2 separate regions of the Homo sapiens genome follow, and region 2 is linked to region 1. Evidence: promoter capture Hi-C in 16 types of primary human blood cells and fetal thymus (Javierre and others, 2016). All regions are on one chromosome and are shown on one strand. Each heading gives the region's core, a stretch centred on a gene start or on the middle of the fragment in contact. The rest is flanking DNA. Distances are from core to core; before and after follow the strand shown.

Region 1 (7,055 bases), core at 30-2,529:
CTCCCCTAGACCCTCCAGCCTTCTCAGCTAATCCTTAGAACCCCCTGACACAGGAAGAGAAGCTGACCCCAACTCCAGCACTGGGTCAGATGGAGGTCATAAGGCTGGTCAGTGTGGGAATGTGCCCTGCACGCACTCAGACAAGGCCACTCCTTACCCTAAGTGCCACTGCCAAGCAAGGGAGATAGCCAAACTGCCCTCAGGAGGCAGGTTACACCCTGACCAGAGGGTTACACTTCAGGCTGTGGAGACCAAGGAAAGCTTTATTATGGGTCTGGTAGGGTAGAAAAAGGAATTGCAGGCTTTGGGTGGGCCAGTTAGGCTGTGCTCAGGCAGAAGCCAAAGCTAGAGAAAAACTACATGAGAGGCCTTGACTGTGCACCTGGAACCAAGAAAAGACACTTCCATGTGATTCAGTGCACTCACCCCCTTAAGAGATTCGTATCTTTGTGATCGGGGTTTCTTGATACCATTTCTGTGCCATTTTCGGGCTGTGGGAGAAAAAAAGGGAATTAAGCCAACAAAGAACTTTCCTCTAATAAGACCACCCAACATCACAGCTGGCAAGTCTGGGAGAACCAACACTTCCTACAGCAGCTACACTTGAGATATGGGAAACCCTTACTACTAAATGCAAAACACTCTGTATCTCAAGTAGATCTCTAAACCTATAAACCCTAAAGTTATTACTGGGTGAAATCAATCAGCCTCAGGCCCACAATGGAAACGTGCCCCTTCATCTCTGTCCCAGTTTGCCTGAACCAGTCCTTGCCAGGGTCTGGGATGTAGGCAGGGCCCAAAAAACTTACACTGGTTGTGTGTGGTGTGGTTCTTGGACTTGGCCATGTCTGCACCTGGAAGACAAAAGTGGAGATCAGGGTTAAGGGCTCGCCAGGCTGGGCCACCTCTGCCCCCCCCATTCTGGTCAGAATGAGCCTGCAGGCAGAGAATGTGCAGCCTCCACGAGTCTCGGCTTACTCTGCACGACCAAACGCCAGTCCTGGCCTCCCAAACCCAGGTAATGATGCCCTGAAATCAACTCCTTACCCCCGGAAAGCTGCATTCCCCAATAAAGTGGCTTTCCCTGCCATCCCCCTCCTAGGACCTAGAAGCACCATTCCCACCCCGCAGCTTTTGCTCCCGACAGACACACGGTCGGTCACCAGTCCTCTCCGCAGCCCGCGCCCCGCCGCCACCCGTAAGTCGCGGATGGCATCGGATGCCGCGCGGCCAACACTCACCATAAGCCGCGGCTCCCGAAGCGCCTAGAACCGGAAGAGAAAGGGGCTGCGGTGCAGCACGGGAAATAGGGTCAACAACGCCGGAAAGTACTACTGGAAAAGCTTCCCCAGGCTCCGCGAAGAAAAGTTCCGAAGCCCGGAAGAACGCAAGCCAGACGTGGAGGCGGTGCTACGAGCTTGCCTCCGCCCCCTTCAGGCTGCCTCCTCCCTTCTCTGTTTCTCCAGGACCTGTCTCTTAAGTCTTATTCAAGATACTGAAAAAGAAAGGAGTCCTTGAGGGATGTTGTTGGGCAAGAAGATCTGTGTTCTTTTTCTTTTTTTTTTTTTTTGAGACGGAGTTTCGCTCTTCCACCGAGGCTGGAGGGCAGTGGCACAATCTCGGCCCACTGCAACCTCCGCCTTCCGGTTTCAAGCGATTCTCTTGCCTCAGCCTCCCGAGTAGCTGGGATTACAGGCGCCCACCACCACGCCCGGCTAATTTTTACATTTTTAGTAGAGACGGGGTTTCACCATGTTGGCCAGGCTGGTCTCGAACTCCTGACCTCGCGATCCGCTCGCCTCTGTCCCCCAAAGTGCTGGGATTACAGGCGTGAGCCACCGCACCTGGCCGATCTGTGTTCTTAAAAGCACCCCTGTAATCCCAGCACTTTGGGAGGCTGAGGTGGGCGGATCACGAGGTCAGGAGTTCCAGACCAGCCTGGACAACATGGTGAAACCCCATCTCTACTAAAAATCCAAAAAAAAAAAAAAAAAAAAAAAAAAAATTCACGGGGCGTGGTGGCACGTGCCTGTAATCCCAGCTACTCTGGAGGCTGAGGCAGGAGAATTGCTTGAATCTGGGAGGTGGAGGTTGCAGTGAGCCAAGATCGCACCATTGCACTCCAGCCTGGGCTACAGGGCGAGACTCTGTCTCAAAAAAAAAAAAGAAAAGCACGCCTGACTCTTTCGTGGAGAAGGAGCAGAGGGGAGGAAGGAGAGAGGGCTGCCTGGACCTGAGGGAGGACAGTGGGAATGCAGAGGAGTGGACAAAGAAAGAGTACTGGACTTGGGACACAGAAGATGAGGGAGAAAAAGGAGGCAAGGATAGCCCCTATGTCTTTGGCTTGACAACTGGGTGAATGGTGGGCTGTTTACAGAGATGGAAGATTGAGTGGGGAGCAGGGGCTTTGTTTGTTTTGTTTTGAGGGGGAATGATGAGCCAGATATTTTTGTTGGATGCATTAAATGTGAGATGCCTGTTGGACATCAGAATTGAGAAATTGTTGCCTCTAACAACTCTGTTGCCTTCTCCACCTCTTCCCCCTATAGTTCATTTTCCACACGGCAGTGGGGCTTGGGGACTTGTTTTAAGATACAAATCAGATCCTGTCCCTTAAATCTGCAAGGACATCCCCTTGCATTGAAGATCAATTCTTTACCCACTTGACCCTGACAACCTCTGTCATTTACTTCTCTCCAAACGCATTGCCTTTCTTTCCTGCCAACCACAAATGTGTGTTCTGCCTCAGGACCTTTGCACTTGCTATCCCAGCCACCTGGACTGCCCTTCTCCCTGCTTTTTGGATGGTGTGCTCTTTCCTATAGAGGCCTCCCTGGACTCCATTATCTAAAATAGAGAACCACTGCCTCATCTCACCAGTGATTCTGTGTCCTCTCATGGTTTCCTTTCTTTTCTATTCTTTTTTTTTTTTTCTTTTTTTTAGACAGTCTCACTCTGTCTCCCAGGCTGGAGTGCAGTGGTGCGATCTCAGCTCACTGCAACCTCTGCCTCCCGGGTTCAAGCGATTCTCCTGCCTCAGCCTCCTGAGTAGCTGGGATTACGGGCGCACACCACCACTCCCAGCTAATTTTTAAAGAATTATTTTTAGTAGAGACGGGTTTTCACCATGTTGGCCAGGCTGGTGTTGAACTCCTGACCTCAGGTGGTCTGCCCGCCTCGGCCTCCCAAAGTGCTGGGATTACAGGCGTAAGCCACCGTGCCCGGCCATGGTTTGCTTTCTTTATAGAACTTTCCCAGACTCTAATTGCATTGTTTACTTAGTTGTGTATGTGTCCATTATCATAGGAGCCCAGAGTTTGGGACTGGTTTGATCACCTTCATTTTCCCACTGCCTAACTCAGCATAATGTAGATAGAGCAAGAGCTTAATAAACACATGCCCAGTGAACGTTCCTTGACAAGCCAGGTTCGTGGAGTGACAGACGCATACTGCAGAGGTTTAGGGAGTGAAGCGGAAAGGAGGTTGTGGAGGCAGGACATGTGGATGACTCATTACCAAAGCATTCCTGAGAAAGGGGAGAGAATTCTGACAGGTGTGAGTTGGGAGAATGAAAAGCAGGCTTATATACTGATGGATGATCTGGTGCCAAGAAAGAAACAGCTGAGCCCAGAGGAGAGTGTCTCTGCAGGAATAAAGTCCCTGTGGGGTGCTGAGCACAGGTAGAGAACCTGGTGGGCAAAGACAGGGGCTACAGGAGGTGGGGGTGGTGTGATGCCTGACAGCAAGTCAGGACTTCAGCTCAGGAAGTTGAAGAGGTGGCTGTGGAGACTGGGACAGGGAGGAGGAGGTCTGACTGCCACATCCTTGAGAAAGAGAAGCCAGCAGGGTAGAGGCTGACAGCGGGGGCAGTGATGACTTTATTTATTTACTTTTATTTATTTTATTTATTTATTTATTTATTTTGAGACAGAGTTTTGCTCTCATTGCCCAGGCTGGAGTGCAATGGCGCGATGTTGGCTCACTGCAACCTCCACCTCCTGGGTTCAAACGATTCTATTGCCTCAGCCTCCCGAGTAGCTGGGATTACAGGCACCTGCCACCATGCCCAGCTAATTTTTGTGTTTTTAGTAGAGACGGGGTTCTACCATGTTGGCAATGCTGGTCTCGAACTCCTGACCTCAGGTGATCCACACTCCTTGGCCTCCCAAAGTGCTGGGATTACAGGCGTGAGCCTGTAATCCATGTCCAGCCTGTGATGACTTTAAAAGAACCAGGCTGCCCTGCTATGTGGCCTTCCAGCTGGGTAGCGACTCCCGCAGCTCCTAAAAAGTGAGTAGTGACTTGGTTTAGCTAGACTGTTACGACAGAGGCAGAAAAAGCAGTGAGCAGAAAGCCACGGTCTGACGGGGGAGGCAGATTCAGAGATGGACGATGGTCATGCAGTACCACTGGGGCTGTGTTAGGGATTGGCCCAGAGTTAAATCCCAGCTGTTAGGCAAGGGGGAGTCAGTGACAAGAATGAGGAACTTTGGCTGTGACCTGAGGGGACCTGTCCAGGAGCCAAAGGGGACCATGACCTGGAGCCACTGACCTGTCATGCTTTTCTTTTCTTTTTCTTTTTTTTTGAGACAGAGTTTTGCTGTTGTTGCCCAGGCTGGAGTGCAATGACACGATCTCAGTTCACTGCAACCTCCGCCTCCCCAGTTCAAGCGATTCTCCTGGCTCAGCCTCCTGAGTAGCTGGGATTACAGGCGCCTGCCATCACACCCAGCTAATTTTTGTATTTTTAGTAGAGATGAGTTTTCACCATGTTGGTCAGGCTGGTCTTGAACTCCTAACCTCAAGTGATCCACCCACCTTGGCCTCCCAAAATGCTGGGATTACAGGCGTGACCAACCACGCCTAGTCCCTGTCATGCTTTTCAAAGTGGGATGGATGGTAGGGTCATCCATGTCTATAAAGATAGTATTCTTTCTAGGGATAGTTTTCTTTATTTCTCCCTTCCTTCCTTTCTTCCTCCCTCCCTCCCTCCCTCCTTTCTTTCTTTTCTTCCTCCCTCCCTTTTTCACTCCTCTCTTTCATAAATGGAAACTTACACTATATGAACTCTTCTGTAACCTGATTTTATGCATTTAGTCATAATTTGTGGACATCTTTCTCTGCTCATGAAAATCTTTTGTAATCTTAATCTATTTTACATATTTTGAAACATTATTTTGAGAAGAGGTCAATAAATATCACCATATGTCAATGGAGTCTCTGGCACACACATACAAAAAGGCAAAGAACTTAACCTTTCCTCTAGGGTTGACACACTCTCACCCTCCATGAGTGAGTGGTTCTTGCTCCATCTCAAATCTGCCTGGAGGCCGGGCTCCACTTGCCTCCTCCATGGAGTAGACTTGGGCAGAGCCACTATCTGGACTCAGCAGAGCATAAGCCAGGTCTCTCTCAAATGCCTTGGGCACAAGGCAGAGAAAGATGTGAGCCTGGGTGACAAGATAGGGCTGGATGGGGCTGGATGTGATCAGCCCAACCCATGTGGCCTGCAAGGGTGTTGTCTTGACCAGGCCTTGTCCAGACCCATTACCCAATTCAAAGCCCGAGTAGGATCCCATAGTGTCTCCTCAGCAAAGTGATGGGGTTGGAGACCCCTGGGGTTGTTTTTGCAGTTCCTGTCACAGTCCCAGGAGTATATGGGGACCTGATACATGTTTGAGGAGTTAAATGTGCACATTTCACAAATCCAGGAAGATGACAGAATCAGGGTGGAGAAGCCAGCTGGCCTGGAGGGATTTCTCAGAGATAAGAGTCAGCTCTTCTCCTGGACCCAGAGCCTTGCTTGCCAAGCCTCAGTTCCCAGCGTAACGTGGGGATAAAAATAGTAATAACCTCTTGGGGCTAAACTGGATAATTTGAGTAAAGCACAGAACACTATGTTAAGTACACAGTAGGTGCTCAATCATTGTTAGTCCCATCCATGCATCTTCCCCACAAGGCCTCAGGTGAGGGAGACGGGGCTTGGGGAAAGAAAATCAGTGGCAAGTGGATGCTAAAAATAAGGACAAGATCCAAGGAACAACAAGAGAAAGCCAAGGTGGAGGAAAGTGGCGGTGCTCGCGGGGGCTGGGTCCCTTCAGCCTCTGAGGTTCCTGAGATACAGGGACTACCAGTGTTTTCAGGTAAGAGGGACTGTGAAGGTTGTCAGAACCAGGGTGTTTTATCTGGTTGTTTTACCCCCACAAGACAGAAGTGTGGAGGTGGGGTGGGCTTTGGGACTTTGGATCTGCTTAGAACTTTCTGAGGGAGGGGCTACCTGATTCTGTGTGTCCCTAGAAGACAGAGCTGTGACTGAGGACAGCAAATGCCAGCTTCGTGGACAAGGGGCATTTTTGCAATCAGAATTCCCTCCAAAATATGGGCTGCTCCCAGCAGTAGTGAGCTTCCTGATACAAGGGTTTTGCCAGCAGCGATTGAATGCCCTGGGGTTGGGGGTTTAAAAATGGGATGGAGGGGGCCAGCCATGGTGGCTTACGCCCATAATCCCAGCACTTTGGGAGGCTGAGCTGTGTGGATCACTTGAGGTCAGGAGTTCAAGACCAGCCTGGCCAACATGATGAAACCCCATCTCCACTAAGAATACAAAAAATTAAGATGGGTGTGGGGGTGGGCACCTGTAATCCCTGCTACTTGGGAGGCTGAGGCAGGAGAATCGCTTGAACCCAGGAGGCGGAGGTTGCAGTGAGTTGAGATCGCGCCATTGTCCTCCAGCCTGGGAAACAAGAGTGAAACTCTGTCTCAAAAAAAAAAAAAAAAAGTGGAATGCAGGGTTGGAAAATAGAGTTAAGTTCACTCCCCACCAGGAGCCTGGGATTCAAAGCTCCTGGTAGAAGGAAAGGGCCATGGGCTGCATGCAACGCCAGGCTGGTGCTCAGTATCTGTCAAAAGAGAGTCATTTCCAGCAGAAACTGGAAGGTGCGGCCCATTCCTCAGGTCATCGCGCGCGCGCCCCTTTCAGCCCCAGGCCTGATCTCCCTCTGGGGGCGCACCTGGCCCACCTAGCCCAGGAGTGAGCCGGGATGTGAGCCTATCGT
Region 2 (6,667 bases), core at 4,154-6,653, 540 kb after region 1:
CGCACAGCAGCCAGCGCCGAGCGGCCGCCCGCAGCCCCGCACCCGCCATGCCCACCGCGCGCCGCCCGCCGCCCGCGCTGCCCTCGGCCAGCCCGCCGCCCGCCGCCCGCCGCCCTCCGACTGCGCGCCCGCCACGGTGGCCTCGTGCTCCTCACGGCGGCCGGCCAATGGGTGCGGCGCGCGGAGCCCGGCCTGCCAATGGGCGCGCCCCTCGGCCCGGGGGGCGGGAGGCCCCGGACCCGGCGGGGCGGGGCGGGGCGGGGAGGGCTCCCCAGCCCCCTCCCCCAGCCAGTCTCCGGCGCGGTCCGGGAGGACTCTGCGCCCCCCTTCGGCCGTCACGCCGGCGATGGCGGCGCCTTTCCCTGGCCCCAGCCCTGGAAGTCAGCGGGCCTAAGAGCGGCCGTCCCTGAGAGGCTCCGGACGGCCGAGGCGCCGAGAGGAGACAGCCGGAGCGCGACGGGTACCCCCCGGGCCCCCGGGTCCTCTGCCGCCCTCTCCGCTCCCGGGTCCGCCCGCCCTACCCTGCGCCTCTGGATGCTTCTGACCCCAGATCCTCCGCTCCTCCCCCTAGTCCTGGTGCTCTCCTTTCCCGGGGTCCTGGTCCCCGGTCTCTGGGCTCGGACTGACTGCCCACTGACCAGAGCCCGGGCCAGTCCACTCACTGGTCTAACAAATAAAGAGCCCTTCCCGCGCTTCCCGGTGCCAGGCCCACGCTGGGGGAGGCCGAGGGGCCTGCAGGGCAGCCGACGTCCGCTAACCAGGTGACTGGGCCGTGCGCTGCAGGGTTGTGGGCCACGGTCACTGCGCCCGCTTGGTTCGGACCTCGGCAACTGGCCGCACTGACCCGTCAACTCCCGGTTTCCCGGCGCACGCCCCTCGTGAGATGCTGTGGTCTTTTCTAGCAACGTCGACAGGCTTTCCAACAAAATTCCTCTTTCCTGCGCAGAACCGCTCTCCACTCGCATTTCTTCTGCTCAGATCCGTATTCCGAGCCCGCACGCATACCAGGCTGTGCTCAGGGTCCGGAGGAGGCCGACCCAGTAGCCGTGGGCCCTGTCGGAGGGGAGCCAGCTGGGCGCGCGTTGTTTTCTGAGGTGGCCGCGCTGTCTTTCAGGGTGTGTGTACATTCGAAACTCCACTGAACCTTGATTGAAGACCTACAGTGTGGCAGTCCATGGCCTGGGGACTGGTAAGGATTGAGGCCGTAGGATGGGCTCGAGTGTGGCGGTGTCCCCAGGGCCCCAGTGAGCAAGTGGGTGTGCTGGGAACCTGGCCACAAGTGAACCTCCTCCAGGCGAGGGGATGCCCTGCAGCATCCAGCCGTCAAAACCTCCTGTAGAAACGGGAGCGAGCATCAAGCCTGTGTGTGTGCATGCTTGGGCGGAGTCTACCCGGAGGAGAAAGAGGCTTCCGGGCTGGCCCTCCAAAGCCGGTTGTACAGGCGGCAGCTCAGGCTGCTCACTGCGGGCCCTATGACCCTTTCTGGGGCCCTGCTTGCTCTCTCCAGTCTGCTTTTGTATATTTTGTGTCCATATCACCAAATCGTCTCATTGGTTCTAAGCTTTCATTTACCTTCCTTAGATTGTCTAATAGTTGTCTCCTTTCTCAAAGCTGTTCCTGCAGTTTTTACTTTAGTCCTAGGTAATGGGGTGACAGCCCCTTTCAGTTATCTTCAGCAAGCACAGCAGCATGAGAAGACGCAATTACAAGTGAAGTCTCTTAAGTCAGAGCCCTGCTTCTACCTGGCATAGTCTCTTAAACTGTCAGTTAAGAGACTACATATAAACAATACACGTTCAGACTCGGCGCGGTGGCTCACGCCTGTAATCACAGCACTTTGGGAGGCCAAGGCAGGAGGATCTCTTGAGCCCAGGAGTTTGAGACTAGCCTGGCCAATATAGTGGGACCCCCATCTCTACAAAAAATTAAAAAATTAGCCGGGCGTGGTGGTGCACGCCTGTAGTGGTGGGAGGATGGCTTGAGCCGGGGAGGAGGGGGTTGCAGTGAGCCGAGATTGCGCCACTGCACTTCAGCCTGGATGACAGAGCGAGGTCCTGTCTCAAGAAACAAACAAAAACCATGTTTGGGAATACATGTGAAGAGCGAGGGCTCTGCCAATCATTATCATCATAATGAATATTCTAACTAATATTAATCAGTTACTATGCTCCAGGGTTGTGTTCAGTGCATCATTCCTATTACCGCACTAAATTATCACAGCGTCAGAACAAGGCCTCCGTTTTACGGCTTAGGGAATTGAGGCACAGATGGGCTAAGGGAGCACCTGTAGAGCAGGGATGTGGTTTGGTAACAGAGTGCATGCTCTTTATACTGCTCTTCTGCGATTATTGTGAATAAAGCGCCTACAAGTGCCTGTGGAACTGTAAGTGCCCCATACAAGATAGCTTTTATTAATTTTAGGGTTCTCACGGGGCGCTTACTTAGATTTTTGCTGTGATAATTGATAAAGTTCAGCTTTCAACACTCCATATCAAATTCTGTTACTTTAGAAGTCTAGGCACCAATCACGTCTCCGAAATAAACGCAAGGCATTGCATAATTGCATTTTGGAATGTGGTGCTGTACATAGTCCATCAGAGAGGGTCATCACTTCTATCTGGGTATTAGGAATAAAAATGGCGGTGGCAGAGTAGGGGGCGCGGCTGCCAACTGCGAGCTCAGACCTGCACTGGGGAGGCAGGGGGCGGGGCCGGGCCGGCGCCACGTGGGCTGTCCTTCCCTTTTGGGCCGTCCCACCTCCAGAGCTGAGGCGCCTGCGCCAGCTCCTTCGAGGCCCTGCTCGGCTTCAGGGAGCACGCGCGCCCTGCCGTGCTCTGATTGGCGGAGCTGCACGCCCCCGCTGCAGTCTGATTGGCGGATCCGCCTCGCTTTAGAAGGTCGGCGCCCAGTTCCGGCACTCGTGCGCCTACCAGACAGTGGCGGAGGACGGCGCTCGCTAGTCTCCCAGGTCGCGGTACACGGCGAGAACGGGCGGGGCGGTCTCGGCTGCGTCCGGGCGATCCAGTGCTTAGTTCCGTCATATCCCTCTCCACGACCTCGGTCGAGCATGTTCACCAGGGCCCAGGTGAGACGGATTCTGCAGCGGGTGCCCGGGAAGCAGCGATTTGGCATCTACCGGTTCCTGCCCTTCTTTTTTGTCCTGGGAGGAACGATGGAGTGGATCATGATTAAAGTGCGCGTGGGCCAGGAGACCTTCTGTAAGTGAGGGGGTAGCAGTCTCTGTTTCCTTTCAGGAAGGCACGAGGCGGTAGGGATCCGTTTTTCTGGGGAGTATTCTCAGATTGCAGACCGCGCATTCCACTCAGAGCGCTGGGCGAGTGCAGTTCCATTCGCTTGGCAGTCAGGGCGGCCTGGCTCTCCTGTAGGCCGGGCACATTGGCGTCCAGCCTTGTGACCTTCCCTGCACTTACAGGCGAGATCACGTGCTTCTTCCAGCCCTCTCATGCCTGCCCTTCACCCCTGCCGGTGACATCGTTTGGGCTTAAGGAACAGACTTGCTCACAACAATCGTAGAAGGGGGTGGATATGAGGGGTCAGGGAAACTCCTGCTAACTAGCCATTTCTCTTTGGATTCTTCTGTCCAAACTCTGGAGGGAGCTGATCTGCCTGGCTTTGCTAATTACCACTACCTTTACAGGACAGTCATTGGCACCAGGTCTTTGGTCTGGGTCCAGATGATCAGCACTGTAAAGATAGTGGTAACGCCTGGCACTGCATTACTGAGCATTAACTCTGGACAGGCCAGTTCCTTTCAGGAGGACTTCCCCAACCCCTCGGCCCTTTCTGCTTTGCCCCTCTCCTGAAACGCTATCACTTGTGACTTGCCAACCCACATTTTAAAGAATTGTTACATTAGTGATTCCTAAAGATCCTTAGTCCTTCTGTTCATCCATTCATTGATACTTAATGAGCATTCTTGAGGGGCTATAATGAACAAGGCAGAGGTGTCCCTTACCCCAGAAGAGCTCTAATGGGAAAGAAGATGATAAAGACAATTAGCATACAAAGTGATCAGTGCTGTGAGAAGGAAGTGGGAGGAACATAGGACTCTCGGGTGGGCGCCTCAACTGGACTAGATGGTGCAGGGAAGGCTTCCGGAAGCAGCTACCAAGTAAAGTAGGACCTGAAGACTGAGTAGGTGTCAGTCAGATGAGGGGAAGGTGTGTGGAATTGAAAGCATCTCCATGGCAGTGGTAGGAGCACTTGTGTGAGAGTATGCTGTGTGTTTGAGGGATTGAAGCAGATCAACAAAGTGGGGATGGCTAGAAGGGTGCCTGGGCAGGGTGGCAAAGGGACTGGAGAACCAAGAATGGATCCCAAGGATTGAGTCATTTTAGGGAGAGGCTTTAACATGTGGAGAATGGCTCCTTGTGGACAGATTGGTAGGAACAGTTACGCTGTATGGCTGTCCAGAGTTGAGACAGTGGCCTGGTCTAGGTTGGGGCAGAAAGGATACCAAGAAGGGATGGAAGTAAAAGACAGCCCAGAGGTAGTACTGACAGGGCATGGTGATTAAGTGGACTCAGGAGATGAGGAGTGGAGGCTTCTGGTGGGACACCTGGGGCAGGGGGTAGTGCATTTCCTGAAGGTGCCGAACACAGGCAGGGCCATCCTGGGCACCATCTGGGACGTGACGAGGTAGATATGGTTATACAGAGCTGAAGCTCAGGAGGCAAATCTGGGCCAGAAATTGGGATTTGTGAACCATTCAGAAGCAAATTATGATGGAAGTCAAATCCCAACATTTTAATTTAATTTATTTATTTTTTGAGACTGAGTTTCGCTCTTGTTGCCCAGGCTGGAGTGCAGTGGTGCGATCTTGGCTCACCGCAACCTCTGCCTCCCAAGTTCAAGTGATTCTCCTGCCTCAGCCTCTGGAGTAGCTGGGATTACAGGCATGCACCACCACGCCCGGCTAATTTTGTATTTTTAGTAGACATGGGGTGTCTCCATGTTGGTCAGGCTGGTCTAGAACTCCTGACCTCAGGTGATCTGCCCACCTTGGCCTCCCAAAGTGCTGGGATTACAGGCGTGAGCCACTGCGCCTGGCCCAAATCCCAACATTTTAAGGGTAACTGAGAATGGCCAGAAAGGCAAGGAGGGAAACCAGGAGGATTTGTTATCACAGAAGACAGGAGGTTAAATACATCTGGCTCTGTGAAGGGGAGGTAACCCCCCTTCCTCTAGGAGAGACTGCAGGATATGCAAATAATGATCTAGAAGGAGAGGGTGGAGAGAGGCTGGAGATACTGGACCCTTGAGAGGGTGGGACCAGAGCTGGGTGACAGGAGTAAGCCCTTGGAAGTTAGCTGGAAGAGTTCCTTATGATGACTTTCCTCTGTGAAGGAAGAGAGGAAATGGCCATTTGGGGGTGGGTGAAAAAGAGTCAGGATGATGGCTGAGGAAACAGGATTGTCAGACACCTCAGTGGACCCAGTTAGAGGCATCAGTTGGCCCCTCAGGACACAGCAAGCAGGGTGAAGCATGGGGAAGGGAGGAAGTTGGATTAATCTGTGGTTGGGGTTTTGAGGGTGTGTCAGGAAGTTAAGATATTGACAAGAGTATGAAGGAATTTTAGCTGATTTGCCAGGAGAGAGAACAAGAAGCGGCTGAGCGGGTAAGACGGGGCCAAGGACCTGGGGAAGAAACGTGAGGTCCAAGGACAGGAGGGCTGGAAAGGTAACGGGGGTTGTGGTATGAACAGAAATCCTTCAGAGGAGCCCTGCAAGTGACTGGAAGATGTTGAAGGTGAAGGGTACTGGAGCTTCATCCCCATGGGTAATGGTGGTATCTGGGGAGAAGGCACAGGACAGGGTCAAGGAACCTGAGCCAGAGGCCAGCACTTTTGGTGACTGAAGGGGCATGATGGAGAGCAGGTGCCAAAGAAAGATGGTGGCAGACAAATGGCATGAGCCATGAAGGAAGAAGATTTTTTTTTTTTTTTTTTGAGACAGAGTCTTGGTCTGTCACCCAGGCTGGAGTGTGGTGGCACGATCTTGGCTCACTGCAGCCTCTGCCTCCTGGGTTCAAGCGACTCTCCTGCCTAAGCCTCCTGAGTAGCTGGGACTACAGGTGCCTGCCACCACACCCGGTTAATTTTTGTATTTTTAGTAGTGACGGGGTTTCACCATACTGGCCAGGCTGGTCTCAAACTCCTGACCTTGTGATCCGCCTGCCTCGGCCTCCCAAAGTGCTGGGATTACAGGCGTGAGCCACTGTGCCCGGCCTGGAAAGAAGATTCTTTACATGAAGGTGGCGAGTCAAAGGTCTGGCAAAGCAGCAGCTGGAACAAGGAAACTGATCTCCTCTCCCCACCTGAAGGTTTCTGGATATGGGAGAGGGAGCATCAGAGAGCCAAGAGGCAAGAAGTGCCTTTGAGGAGCCAGGTTTTAGTTAAGAAGGATGACTTCAGAGCACAGAATAGAAATTATGGGGGAGAAGGAAGTGAGGGACATCTTAAAACACTAAGAGATGTGCTAAGACATGATTCTATCTTTCAAGACACTGACTTTTACCCTATTTAAGTCTAGAACTCCATTATCATAGTCCTCATCTAACTCAAGTTTTGTTTTAAGTTTATTTTGGCATTGAGTTAAATATTAATGCCAAGATTCAGAAGTAGGTGACAGACCTAGACTATTGGTTA

Evidence for each region. Contacts are between HindIII fragments. The CHiCAGO score rates a contact against its expected background, and 5 or more counts as called.
Region 2: a fragment that was not itself captured here is called in contact with the fragment with the promoter of RPL29 in region 1 in 2 of 17 cell types (fetal thymus and naive B cells); the score reaches 5.5 in fetal thymus.

What each region holds. Positions count from the first base shown.
Region 1 is chr3:51,994,616-52,001,670 of GRCh38, forward strand. RPL29 (ribosomal protein L29) reads right to left here and starts at 1,280. Exons shown (of 4, transcript NM_000992.3): 1 at 1,242-1,280; 2 at 810-854; 3 at 427-491. The coding sequence starts at 846. RefSeq lists an enhancer at 1,225-1,384. The HindIII fragment of the contact is 1,082 bases long and covers 260-1,341 here.
Region 2 is chr3:52,533,689-52,540,355 of GRCh38, forward strand. It overlaps UQCC5 (ubiquinol-cytochrome c reductase complex assembly factor 5), which reads left to right and starts at 2,917. Exons shown (of 2, transcript NM_001124767.2): 1 at 2,917-3,218. The coding sequence starts at 3,068. NT5DC2 (5'-nucleotidase domain containing 2) reads right to left here and starts at 169. Exons shown (of 14, transcript NM_001134231.2): 1 at 1-169. The coding sequence starts at 49. RefSeq lists silencers at 1-8, 69-568, 2,603-2,902 and an enhancer at 3,236-3,769. The HindIII fragment of the contact is 7,688 bases long and covers 1,560-6,667 here.